Regions from separate parts of the Homo sapiens genome. Here regions 1, 2 and 3 are each linked to region 4. The links are contacts of gene promoters, found by promoter capture Hi-C in human tissues and cell types (Jung and others, 2019). All regions are on one chromosome and are shown on one strand. The core of a region is centred on a gene start or on the middle of the fragment in contact, and the rest is flanking DNA. Distances in the headings are between cores, read along the strand shown.

Region 1 (2,829 bases), core at 229-2,728, 500 kb after region 4:
TACCTGCACCCTGGTACTTGCTCCCTGAGCTTGGGGCAGAAGCTTCTGAAGACTAGGGTGGAGCACCACGGGGAGGGGCCATGGAGGAACAGAGGAGCCAGACGTCAAGTGAGGACAGCGATGGCACTGCAGGGCCACAGCCTGGTTTACCTGCCATGCTTCCAGTTGTCCTTCTGGTAGGCGCCTGGCCCGGGTTGTAGTTTGAAGAGTGAGCAGGAAATGTCTCCATCCAGGTGGCTGCAGATGGCTACTCACCCAGGCTGTACTGAGAGGCCACAGTCCCAGTTCTGGTCCTCTGTCGTGTATCCAGGAGTGGCAGGGCAGTGAGGCTCTAGCTTCTAGGTCAGGGATGGGGACAGTGGGGACAGTGCCATGCCCCGAGCCTCTGCCGTTGGGCAGCTGGTATCCTGCTTCCAGCCAGAGAATGCACATCTTCATGTAGTGGATTTCCTAACAACCCGGGGAGATGAAGGTAGGTTGTTTTTCCTGTTTTACAAGTGGTAAAATGAGATTCAGGGCTAGAGTTCTCTGAGCAGCTGCTTCTCTGATCTCTGTCCTGCCCTTGGCCTCTGGGAGCTCTTATGGTTCCTCAGCAGAGTTCACAGGGCTCTTGGAGCCTGTCCTTCGGCCTTGAGCTGAGGCCACAACTGCGCGCACTTCATAGGCTTGAGGGGAAAGTGATTCATCCAGGAAGTAAACAGTGAGCCCTTTACTCTGAGAACACCTGTGCCTGGAGTCCGCCGGAGTTTGGGAGGACAAATGAACCCCATGTGAATCCTGTTCCCTGGAGCCCGCAGTGTGGTGGGAGAGGTGACCCAGGGATTATATAACTAATAGGAGGTAGCATGAAGGAGGCCTGAGATCTCACTACCCTTGCCTCCCCCTCCTCCAGAGAGGCTGTGCTGGAGAGAGGCCATGCTGTTGCAGGGCCATAGGATGTGGTACTGTTGGCCTGGAAGATGTGGTTTGATTACAGTCACCATTGAGGGTCAGGGAGGGGAGCGAAGCTCTCCTTTAGATGCCCCCCCACCCGATTTTTTTTTTTTTTTTTTTAGCTGGGCCTGAGAATTTGATTCACCTAAGAGAGGTCCACAGGAGACAAGCACACACATTTATTTAATTCAAGTTTTACCTGGCATGGAAGAACCTGTGAGAGTCAGTTACTTATTTACTGAATTAGACCAAGTAACTCATGAAGAAGCAAGTAACTATGTGAGGAGCTAAAAAGATGAGAGTGGATCCATTCTAACATGGTCTGCACAGTACCCTCTTGGCCTCGACTTCTCATCCTTAAAAATAAGGAAATTGTCAGCTGGGTGCGGTGGCTCACGCCTGTAATCCCAGCACTTCGGGAGGTCAAGGCAGGTGGATCACGAGGTCAGGAGATCGAGACCATCCTGGCTAACACAGTGAAACCCCGTCTCTACTGAAAATACAAAACAATTAGCGGAGTGTGGTGGCGGGTGCCTGTAGTCCCAGCTACTGGAGAGGCTGAGGCAGGAGAATGGTGAGAACCTGGGAAGCAGAGCTTTCAGAAAAAAAAAAAAAGGAGATTGTCCTATGTTTCCCTGGGGACTTTCATCTCCTGCTTTTAGGAAACACAAAAGAGGTCAAAGGATCTTCTTGCACCTGTTGTTTTTCAATAGCCTTTAATTCATAATAGTCAATTGACCAGGGTGGGCAGGGTGCGATGGCTCACACCTGTAGTCCTGCCAAGACAGGCAGATCACTTGAGCCCAGGAGTTCAAGACCAGCCAGGGCAACATAGCAAAACCCGGTCACAACAACAACAACAAAAAACCAAACAAACAGAAAAACAGAAAAACACAGAAAATTATGTCGTGTGAAGGAATCCACACAGAATGCTTACCATCTGATTCCATTTCTCATTAAAATTCGACCAATCTATTCTGACAAAAAGCAGAATTATTGCTGGGGACATAGGAGCAAAGCGGAAGAGAGGATTACATTGAAGAATGAAGAAATTCTGGGGTGTGGTGGACATGTCATTTTCTTATCGTGGTGGTAGTTCCACAATGTATACACACGTCTCAATCTACCAAACTACATGCTTCAAAAATGTACACTTTGTTTCATGCCCATTATACCTCAATGAATCCATTTTTAAAAAACCTTCAATAGAATGTAAACACTTGAGTGTATACTGTATTCCCTATAGCACTTGCACATAGATCATGGAAATAGGTATGCATAAAAAGTCAGTTTATCCAATTAAAATGGAATTCTAAAAGGTAATTAACATTAAAATGTGCAGGGGGAAAAGGAGTAAAAAAATTAGACTAGACAATCATAGCTTAAATGGTAAACTTACAGGTCTATTTCAACTATATCAATTATTGCACTCCCTGTAAATCCACTGAGCACTACAGTTCAATGGTAGAAATGTTTGGAAGGGCTGAGAAAGCAAGACTCAACTATATCTTGTCTATATGAGATGGGCCTTAAAAGGAAGACACAGATGTTGTCTGTTGAAAGTAAATAGATGGAAAAAGATACACCATGCAGAGTGTAAGGCCAAGAAAACTGCCATGGCTATCTCAGTATCAGATGAAGTTGATTTTGTTAGCGGTGGATGAGATCCGAGTTACCCTACGTTGAAGGCGGCGAATCCGTATGCGTCCACAGCACCTTCAGCTCTTCGCCTCCTGAGAAGAAAGAACTGGTTTGAGGGGCATAAGGCAGAAGCAGAGATGGAGGCAAGTTTCAGAGCAGGAGTGAAAGTTTATTAAAAAGCTTTAGAACAGGAAGGAAAGGAAGGAACAGGAAGGAAAGGAAGGAACAGAAAGAAAAGAAGGAAAGTACACTTGG
Region 2 (2,791 bases), core at 58-2,557, 320 kb before region 4:
AGCCTGGGCGGCAGAGCGAGACTCCGTCTCAAAAACAAATGTGTATATATGAAAGAATATACACTGACGTGCTAAGGCAGGTGTCCTTTGGTGGTAGGATTTGGTGGTTTTTATTTTTTTATGACCTATGGTTTCTGATGTTTCAGCTGCGAGCAGGTCTTCTTGAGTCAAAGTTCTAGGCAGATAGATAATTTTTAATATGCCCGCTAGATGGAGCAGCAGTTACTGGGTAACTAGCACCTGTTGCACAGCTCTGGTAAAGATTGCAGTTTGAGTCAAGTTAAAGGAAAATCCTCTTCATTATTTTCCAGCCCCAATGTGGAGTGCAAAAGCATGAGGTTCGGCATGTTGAAGGACCATCAAGCTGTCACCGGCAACGTCACTGCGTTTGATGGATCTATTCTCTATCTGCCTGTTAAGCTTCAACAAGTGAGACCAAACAGGAAATGGACTTTGAGATGAACCCTAAGAGTGCTCTGGCGTTTTTTGTTTGGTTTTGCTTTTAAGAGATTGGGTCTTGCTATGTTGCCCAGACTGGTCTCGAATTCCCAAAGCCCTGGGACTACAGGCGTGTGAGCCACTTCACCTGGCCCAGGACTGGTGTTTTGAGGGGTAGGAAACCATAGAATTCCTGTATGTTCGAGTTGTGCTTTTCTGTTCATAGAGGGGAAGACAGATTTCTGCAGGACATCACAGCACATTTTAGGTTTGAATTCCTCAAGAAGCACCTTCTCACATGAGAGGAATGGTTGGAAGTCTGTGACCTCAGTGATAAAGAGTAACTTAAAATTGCAAATGTAGGCCGGGTGCGGTGGCTCACGCCTGTAATCCTAGTACTTTGGGAGGCTAAGTCAGGTGGATCACGAGGTCACGAGATTGAGACCATCCTGGCTAACACGGTGAAACCCTGTCTCTACTAAAAATAAAAAAAATTAGCTGGGCATGGTGGCAGGCGCCTGTAGTCCCAGCTACTCAGGAGGCTGAGGCAGGAGAATGGCGTCAACCCAGGAGGCGGAGCCTGCAGTGAGCCGAGATCACGCCACTGCACTCCAGCCTGGGTGACAGAGCGAGACTCTGTCTCCAAAAAAAAAAAAAAAAAAAATTGCAAATGTAAACTTGGTTGGAATTCTCTTACCAAATCATTTTTCTGAATCGTAGTTGTCATGCTGTGCTTTTGCTAGTGTGGGCAACAAAGTGAGGGGAAAAGTAGAAAAATGTTTTAAGATACTTTAGTGTTCTTAAGAACACAGTTGAATTAGATTAGGACTTGGTCATTAGTTCTTAGTTTTGTCATTTTGTTTCACCTGTGTGTATTTATTTGTTAGGTTCTTGAGTTAAAAAGTCAAAGGAAAACAGACAGTGCTGAAATCAGCATTAAGATTCAGATGACAAAGATCCTGGAGCCCTGCTCTGACCTGTGCATTCCCTTCTACAATGTTGTTTTCCGTCGGTAAGAAAACAGCTGAAGTTCTATTGTCCTGTAACTTCAGTCTTGTATTTACAGTAATGTTCTTCAAGATACTTGGATGGAAATACGTGACAGTATATTCTAGATGGGTTTGGAAGCATTTAATGAATAAATGGATGGTATTGAGGCTAACTTACTCAAAAATTATCTCACAAGTGGTAGACCAGATTTGAATATATGAAATTAGGTTTGGAGGTAGCTGGATAGGGGAACGGGTTCCTCCAGTTGTGTTCAGGAACTTTGAAAGCGGCTGTTGATAGTGCATATTTAATGGTGACGGTAACAAGGGGGCTACTTAAAGAGGTTGTGTGTAAAAATATTTGCTGGAAGGATTTTTCAGTGTCTTGAATTTTTGGATTACAGACAGCTCATAATTGTTTAACTTCTTTTGAAACATCCTAGTTTTCATACAGCCGCTATTCTCTTATTTAATGAAACACAACCTAATTTCTTTTCTTTTCTTTTTTCTTTTTTTTTTTTTTTTTGAGAGACGGAGTCTCGCTCTGTCGCCAGGCTGTAGTGCAGTGGCGCAATCCCGGCTCACTGCAACCTCCGACTCCCTGGTTCAAGTGATTGTCCTGCCTCAGTCTCCTGAGTAGCTGGGATTACAGGCATGCGCTGCCACGTCTGGCTAATTTTTGTATTTTTAATAGAGATGATGTTTCATCTTGTTGGCCAGGATGGTCTCGATCTTTTGACCTCGTGATCTGTCCACCTCAGCCTCCCAAAGTGCTGGGATTAGAGGCGTAAGCCACCGCGCCCGGCCCATGGAACCTAATTTCTACCTAGTAAGTTGAACTGCCAGGAGTAAACATAGCTCCCTTTGCCACACTGTTATTCACACACTTAGCAATGGGCTGTCTTGCATTCTTCGTAGTTAGTGGTGAAAAGTAACGTAATAAAACCTTGGAAACCAACTCAGTGTTTGGTCAGCTAGTAAGTGGAAAAGACTGCTGTCATTTTGCTTTGCTTTTTCAGTCAAATGCTTTGGCAGTTTTTGGTTTTCTTTTAACAAGATTGTTCTCAATATAAAAGCTGTCTTCTGCAAAGAGCACAAACATTTCTAACCGTTCAGACTTCCAAAGGCAAATGTAGCTAAGAATAATGGAACATAATTTTATTACTCTTCTATTAGAAAACTCATACTTGCTTTTTATTTCAGGGTAATGAAACTTTTAGATATGAAGCTTGTGGGGAGAAACTTTTATGACCCTACAAGTGCTATGGTACTACAGCAACACAGGTTGGTACTTTTTTCCCTTCCCTCACTTTTGAATGTTCTGGAAAGAAAGTTTCCATTACAACCATTGTATTTAGTACTAT
Region 3 (2,850 bases), core at 266-2,765, 400 kb before region 4:
GCGCAAAGAGGGAGGGCAGGGGGCTGTGTGAACCCACCGATGGGTAATGGTGACAGCTCACGGTTCAAGTGTGGGTAGACGGGAGCTTCACCTGCCTCTACCAGGGACTTGAGAGGGCCCTGTTTTCCGGGCCCTCGTGCTGTATCTTGCCCATCCTTCTCCCCACCAGTCATAGTGCCTGGCCGCCTGTTTCCCCCAGTGAAAGCTGTCCAATAATGTCATCATGAATAATGATCATCAGCTTGTAAATCTGAGTCGGGGCAGGGCGTGGTGGCTCATGCCTGTAATCCCAGCACTTTGGGAAGCTGATGGGGGCAGATTGCCTGAGCTCAGGAGCTCAAGACCAGCCTGGGCAACATGGCAACACCCGTCTCCACTAAAAATACAAAAAATTAGCCAGGCGTGGTGGCGCAAGCCTATAGTCCCAACTGCTTGGGAGGCTGAGGCACAAGAATCGCTTGAACCTGGGAGGCAGAGGTTGCAGTGAGCCAGGATCGCGCCACTTCACTCCAGCCTGGGCAACAGAGCAAGACCCTGTCCCCCCCCACCCCGCCCGCCCCCGCAAAAAGAAATTGAGTTGGGGAAGCCATGCTTTTCAGAGGCAGAAGTCAGATTGCCGTGGATTGAGGAGACCTGCCGTGAGAGTGTGGCCATAGCGAGTGTTCTCGAAGGCTAGCTGGAAACAAAAGGAGAGCGATGGGCTGTAGCTGGAGGGGCCTGGGAGAGCTCTTTCAGGATGTGTGAAGGTTCCGAGGCTGCAGAGCTGAGTGAGAGCGTGAGGCTGGATCATTTGTGGTGTGAGGGTTCCCACGCGTGGGCAGCAATGAGCTGCACCTCCCAGAAGGGCAGTCCATCCTGACGGGGAGGAGGGACACTTGCTCTGAGGCTTCAGGGCAGCAGGGTAGCAGGGTAGGTGGGTTTGCAGGTCGGAGTCCAGAGGTTGAAGCCATTCATGGTGGAAGGCCCTGGCTTTGTCAGGAGGTAGGAGAGAGGTGGTCTGCCACTGGGAGCTGACACAGTGGCTTGAGGAGGGGGCTGGATGTTTGCAGCAGTTACTAAGGAGGTGAGAGATGGAGCTGGTAAAGGCCAATCCAAAGAGTATCAAGTGGTCTGGGGGCCCAGGTGAGGCTGGAGCCACAGGTGGAGTTTTCTAAGATAGTGCTGTGCAGAGCCGGGGATGCAGGGCCACGCAGGGTGCAGAGGAGCAGGCTGGGTGGTCAGCCCTGCAGTCAGTTAAGTCAATCGAGGAGGAAATAGTGGGAGAGAATAGAAAGATCAAGACCCTGGAGGTCTCTCTAAAATTAAGAGGCCAGCCAGGCACAGTGGCTCATGCCTGTGACCCTAGCACTTTGGGAAGCTGAGGCAGGAGGATCGCTTGAATCCAGGAGTTTGACATCAGCCTGGGCAACATAGTGAGACCCCATCTCTACAACAAGCAAAAATGAAAAAAATTACCCAGGTGGCATGCCTGTAGTCCCAGCTACTTGGGAGGCTGAGGCGGGAGGATCAATTGAGCCTAGGAGCTCAAGGCTATGGTGAGCTATGATCGCACTACTGTACTCCAGCCTGGGTAGCAAAGTGAGGACCCATTTTTGTTTTTGTTTTTTAATTTTAATAAAGCCAAATGACCATGATCAGGAAGGTGAGGTCCTGAGCACCCCGAAGGAACAGGAGGTGGCCACAGAGGGGTGATGTGTTTGTGATGTGAAGAAACAGTGGATGATGACAAAGCCCTCAAGGAACCGAGAGGCCGTCTTGGGTGGACCGTTATATGTCTGTTGACTTCACCTGGGAGGGTAGCAGGAGTGGGGGTGGGGAGAACTGAGTCAGGTGTCAAAGTCCCCTGTGACTGTCCAGGCTGCTGGAGATCAGTGGATGACAGCTTCAAGGAGGGGCACAGGTCAGCCGGGTGCAGTGGCTCACGCCTGTAATCCCAGCACTTTGGAAGGCCTAGGCAGGTGGATCACTTGGGGCCAGGAGTTCGAGACCAGCCTGGCCAACATGGTGAAACTCTGTCTCTACTAAAAATACAAAAATTAGCCAGGCATAGTGGCTCACGCCTGTAATCCCAGCACTTTGGGAGGCCAAGGTGGGTAGATCTCCTGAGGTCGGGAGTTTGAGACTAGCCTGGCCAACATGGCGAAACCCCGTCTCTACTAAAAATACAAAAATTAGCCAGAGATGGTGGCGCACGTCTGTAATCCAAGATACTGAGGAGGCTAAGGCAGGAGAATCACTTAAACCTGGGAGGTGGAGGTTGCAGTGAGCCGAGATCACACCACTGCACTCCAGCCTGGGCAACAGAGCGAGACTCCATCTCAAAAAAAAAAAAAAGAAAGAAAGAAAAGAAAAATGGAGAGGCACAGGTGATATGACCCCTGTGGCCCAACACCTACAAAGGTCTGGGGGTTGTCCAGGGAGCCTGCGATGGCTGCTTCATGAGTGCTGCCATGTGAGGCCTCACTCAAGGCTTTTGTAGGAATCGGGCAGCTAGATTTTCCCCAGACGCAGTAACCTCATGAAAAAGAAACGATGCCTGCCTGCCATCCAGTTCATAAGTGGGACAAGAGATGGAAGAAAGGAGGGGGGGCAGGAGGGAAGGGCCTTCCCCACAGGAGGCATCGGAGCTTGGGGTCCCTCTCTATCCCCTTCCGTCACTCGCTTCCCTGCAGCCGGCTGTGACCACAAGGTGACATCCACCAGTGGTACCATCACCAGCCCCAACTGGCCTGACAAGTATCCCAGCAAGAAGGAGTGCACGTGGGCCATCTCCAGCACCCCCGGGCACCGGGTCAAGCTGGTAAGGGGTCCCCTCCCCACTCCTTATGCGGTGTGGCTGCCCCCGGTCAG
Region 4 (2,728 bases), core at 185-2,684:
TGGTGACCCTGGGTGGAGGGGACTTGCTGTGAAGTCTTCCTCGCCCTCTGCCCTCTTGCTGCTTCTCCACATTGCCAGGAAAAGCTGCTGACGCCTGCCCTCCTCTCTTGAGTCGAGGGCTGAATCTTTCTCCTCTAAGCAGTCTGGTCAGGAACCTTGGTTTCTTGAGAGGCCCCCAAGATGCCGCAGCTCCAGGGCTCTTCCTCCTCACCAGAAATCCCTGGGCTTCCACAATGTGAACTCACTCATTGTCAGGTGTCCGTGGAGTGTTTTTGGCATGGTGACCTGTCTGGGCCCAGCATGTTGCAGATGTGTATTTATGCGCAATGGTATGCATATCTCTGTGTGACTGTCAGTGTTGCAAGCTGGCTGGATCCAACCATCTCTTCTGAAATAATGCATCCAAAGGGTTGATATTCTGGGGGAGGTCACTGCAGAAGGATGGAACTGACCTTTATTCCCCAGTGGGCAGTTACTGAGCTTTCCTCCTCAGAGCCATGCTGGCAGCCCTGGGACAGAGAACGGTGTGGCTTTGGCTGCCTCTGCATGGAATCTTGCCCCGGACTCCTGAAGACTGCACAAGGAATGAGGAAGATCAGGGACAACCTGGGAACTGAATAACTTTCAAAGCCAGTGCTCAGCTTCTCTGCTCCGTACTAGCGTTTACAGGTCTTAATTCAAACCAGATGCCTGTACTAGTTTTTAGACCCCAAGTCAACCTTTCTGAGCCACAGCTTCCCGCTGGGAATAATGATGCCTGCCCTATCTACCTCACAGACTTGTTATGAGGATAAAGTGAGATTAAACTGCCTCAAAGTGCTTTGTAAACCTCAGGTGAATAGGAAAGGGGAAAGTAAGGCTGGAGTGATGATGGGGAGGTCGGAGGATAAGGGGGGGCTGGGATTGCTAATGGGGACTAAAATGGCCAGTCTCCTGGCAAGATTTTGAGCAGGTCATTTCATTGAGGCCTCTTAGATTTCATATTTGAGAATTAGGGCACTGATTCCTGACTGGCTAGGCATGGTGGTCACTGGCTTGAGTCAGACCAGGAATGTCTCTTAGAAATGGTCACTGATAGGCATCCTTCTCCTCCAGTCAGGAGGGGCTGGTTTCCTTATCTGTTGCAGTCTCGACTGCCAGAGGGAGGCGAGCGTGGTAGGCAGTCGGGGGTCCCTTGTGTTTGGGGGGCCCAGCTCCCGCTTCCTTTGAGCCCGGAACCAATGATCCGAAGCCTTCTTTCCTGATGGGATTCTTTAGCGAGGACACTACCGAGGCGCGACTTCCTGACGCGCATCCGATCCGGGAAGGCGCACTTCCGCTCCCCAGTTGCCGCGGGATGGCAAGCCGGCGTGGGGGAAGGGAGAGGTCGGCGGAGACGAGGGAGGGACCATATCCGGGAGAGCGGCAGCTTCCGACCAGTGGTCGCGCTTCCGGAGAGGCGCTTCCGGTGGCGGCGGCAGCAGCGGCTGTGGTGGTTCCGGGTGTCTTTGTCCCCCCGGTGTCGCTGCCCTGGCCCGCAGGTGGGTTGGGGGGCCCCCTGCCGCCCCTCTGCCCCTTCGCCCCTCCGCCCCTCCGCTGGCCGAGGGGCTGCGAGGGCCGGGCGGCGAAGATGCGTGGGGCGCGGAAGGGGCCGAGCCCCTCTTTGGACTGCAAGTCCCGTCTCCCTGGCAACGGCCTCGGCCTTGGGGGCGGGCGGGAGGAGGAGAAACCGCGCGCCTCAGTCCTCCCTTGGTGGCCTCGCCGCGGCTCTGCTGGGAGACCCGGCGCTGGCGGCTGCTGAGGCCGGAGCGGAGGGCCCGGGAGCGTGGGAGCAGGAGGGTGGCGCGCAGCCGGTTTCGCGTTTGGTCGGCCAGGGAGCTGCCTTCCCACCAGCCGGTCGAGGAAACAACGGGTCGGGCTTCCGGGGAGAGGGCCCACACAGTCTCCTCGCCGGCACCGGCCTCCTCCATTTTTCCGGGCCTTGCGTGGAGGGTTTTGGCGGATGTTTTTGAACGAAGGAATGTCATCGGGGCTCTCTCGAGCCCCTCACCCCGCCAGCTACTCTGGGGGTGGCGTGGCATAGTGAGAGGAGCGCTAAGTTGTTGGGAGGCCTGGGTGTGAGTAGCAGTTTTGTCACTACCTGGTTATGTGGCCCCGGGCAAGTCTCTTGATCTCTCTGAGCATCAGTTTCCTTGTCTGTAAAACAGCATGACAGTATCATGCACCACTAGGTTATTGTCAGGGCAAACTGGAACAATGTAATTTCTTGTTTCATTTCTTTCTTCTCTATATTCTCTCCATCCATTGCTTTCATTCATTCTTATTACCCACCTCCCTGTTTTCCGAAATATCCTTACTTAAGATTCTCCACTTTTCCGGGTATAGATGGAAATTTCCCTTATAAGCTGTTAATTTCTTTCTTTTTGGATTGAAGCCTTTTCCCCACGACTCTGAAAGAGGACAGCGTTCCCAATGTCCCAGTTTAAGCGCCAGCGGATCAACCCGCTTCCAGGGGGACGCAACTTCTCAGGTGATCACTGTTCTCCCTACCTGGCCTCATCCTGGGAAGTATGTGCTCTGGAGTTAGTTTGGGGTTTCCCTGGTGGAGAGCAATTTGCTGCTGATGTTCCTCTGGAAAGCAGGAGATGCCCACAGTGATTGCCAGTGAAGCTCTGTGGAGGAGCTGGCTGGAGCTGTAGCCTTTGGATTTACCACATCCTTTGGTTGACTCGTGCTTAAGGTGGTAGGG

What was found. The method cuts DNA at HindIII sites, captures the fragments that hold promoters and counts their contacts. A contact is called where the count stands out against the background at its distance.
Region 1: a contact is called between a fragment that was not itself captured here and the fragment with the promoter of CCAR2 in region 4, in 1 of the 25 tissues and cell types used here (spleen).
Region 2: a contact is called between a fragment that was not itself captured here and the fragment with the promoter of CCAR2 in region 4, in 1 of the 25 tissues and cell types used here (mesenchymal stem cells).
Region 3: a contact is called between a fragment that was not itself captured here and the fragment with the promoter of CCAR2 in region 4, in 1 of the 25 tissues and cell types used here (liver).

The regions. Positions count from the first base shown.
Region 1 is chr8:23,105,395-23,108,223 of GRCh38, forward strand. The region is part of intron 1 of TNFRSF10C (TNF receptor superfamily member 10c); the gene reads left to right. Among named protein-coding and RNA genes, the nearest start is that of TNFRSF10C, 3.9 kb to the left of the region's middle. The HindIII fragment of the contact is 5,895 bases long and covers 1-2,829 here.
Region 2 is chr8:22,287,217-22,290,007 of GRCh38, forward strand. PIWIL2 (piwi like RNA-mediated gene silencing 2) reads left to right here. Exons shown (of 23, transcript NM_018068.5): 7 at 312-429; 8 at 1,326-1,450; 9 at 2,631-2,711. Among named protein-coding and RNA genes, the nearest start is that of PIWIL2, 13 kb to the left of the region's middle. The HindIII fragment of the contact is 4,874 bases long and covers 1-2,791 here.
Region 3 is chr8:22,204,182-22,207,031 of GRCh38, forward strand. BMP1 (bone morphogenetic protein 1) reads left to right here. Exons shown (of 20, transcript NM_006129.5): 17 at 2,673-2,800. Among named protein-coding and RNA genes, the nearest start is that of PHYHIP, 26 kb to the right of the region's middle. The HindIII fragment of the contact is 8,100 bases long and covers 1-2,850 here.
Region 4 is chr8:22,603,323-22,606,050 of GRCh38, forward strand. It overlaps CCAR2 (cell cycle and apoptosis regulator 2), which reads left to right and starts at 1,435. Exons shown (of 21, transcript NM_001393997.1): 1 at 1,435-1,520; 2 at 2,414-2,509. The coding sequence starts at 2,452. It overlaps C8orf58 (chromosome 8 open reading frame 58), which reads left to right. Exons shown (of 7, transcript NM_001013842.3): 7 at 1-820. It overlaps LOC107986876 (a long non-coding RNA gene), which reads right to left and starts at 1,678. Exons shown (of 1, transcript NR_160769.1): 1 at 1-1,678. RefSeq lists enhancers at 1,153-1,262, 1,269-1,769 and silencers at 1,433-1,732, 1,793-1,852. The HindIII fragment of the contact is 3,664 bases long and covers 957-2,728 here.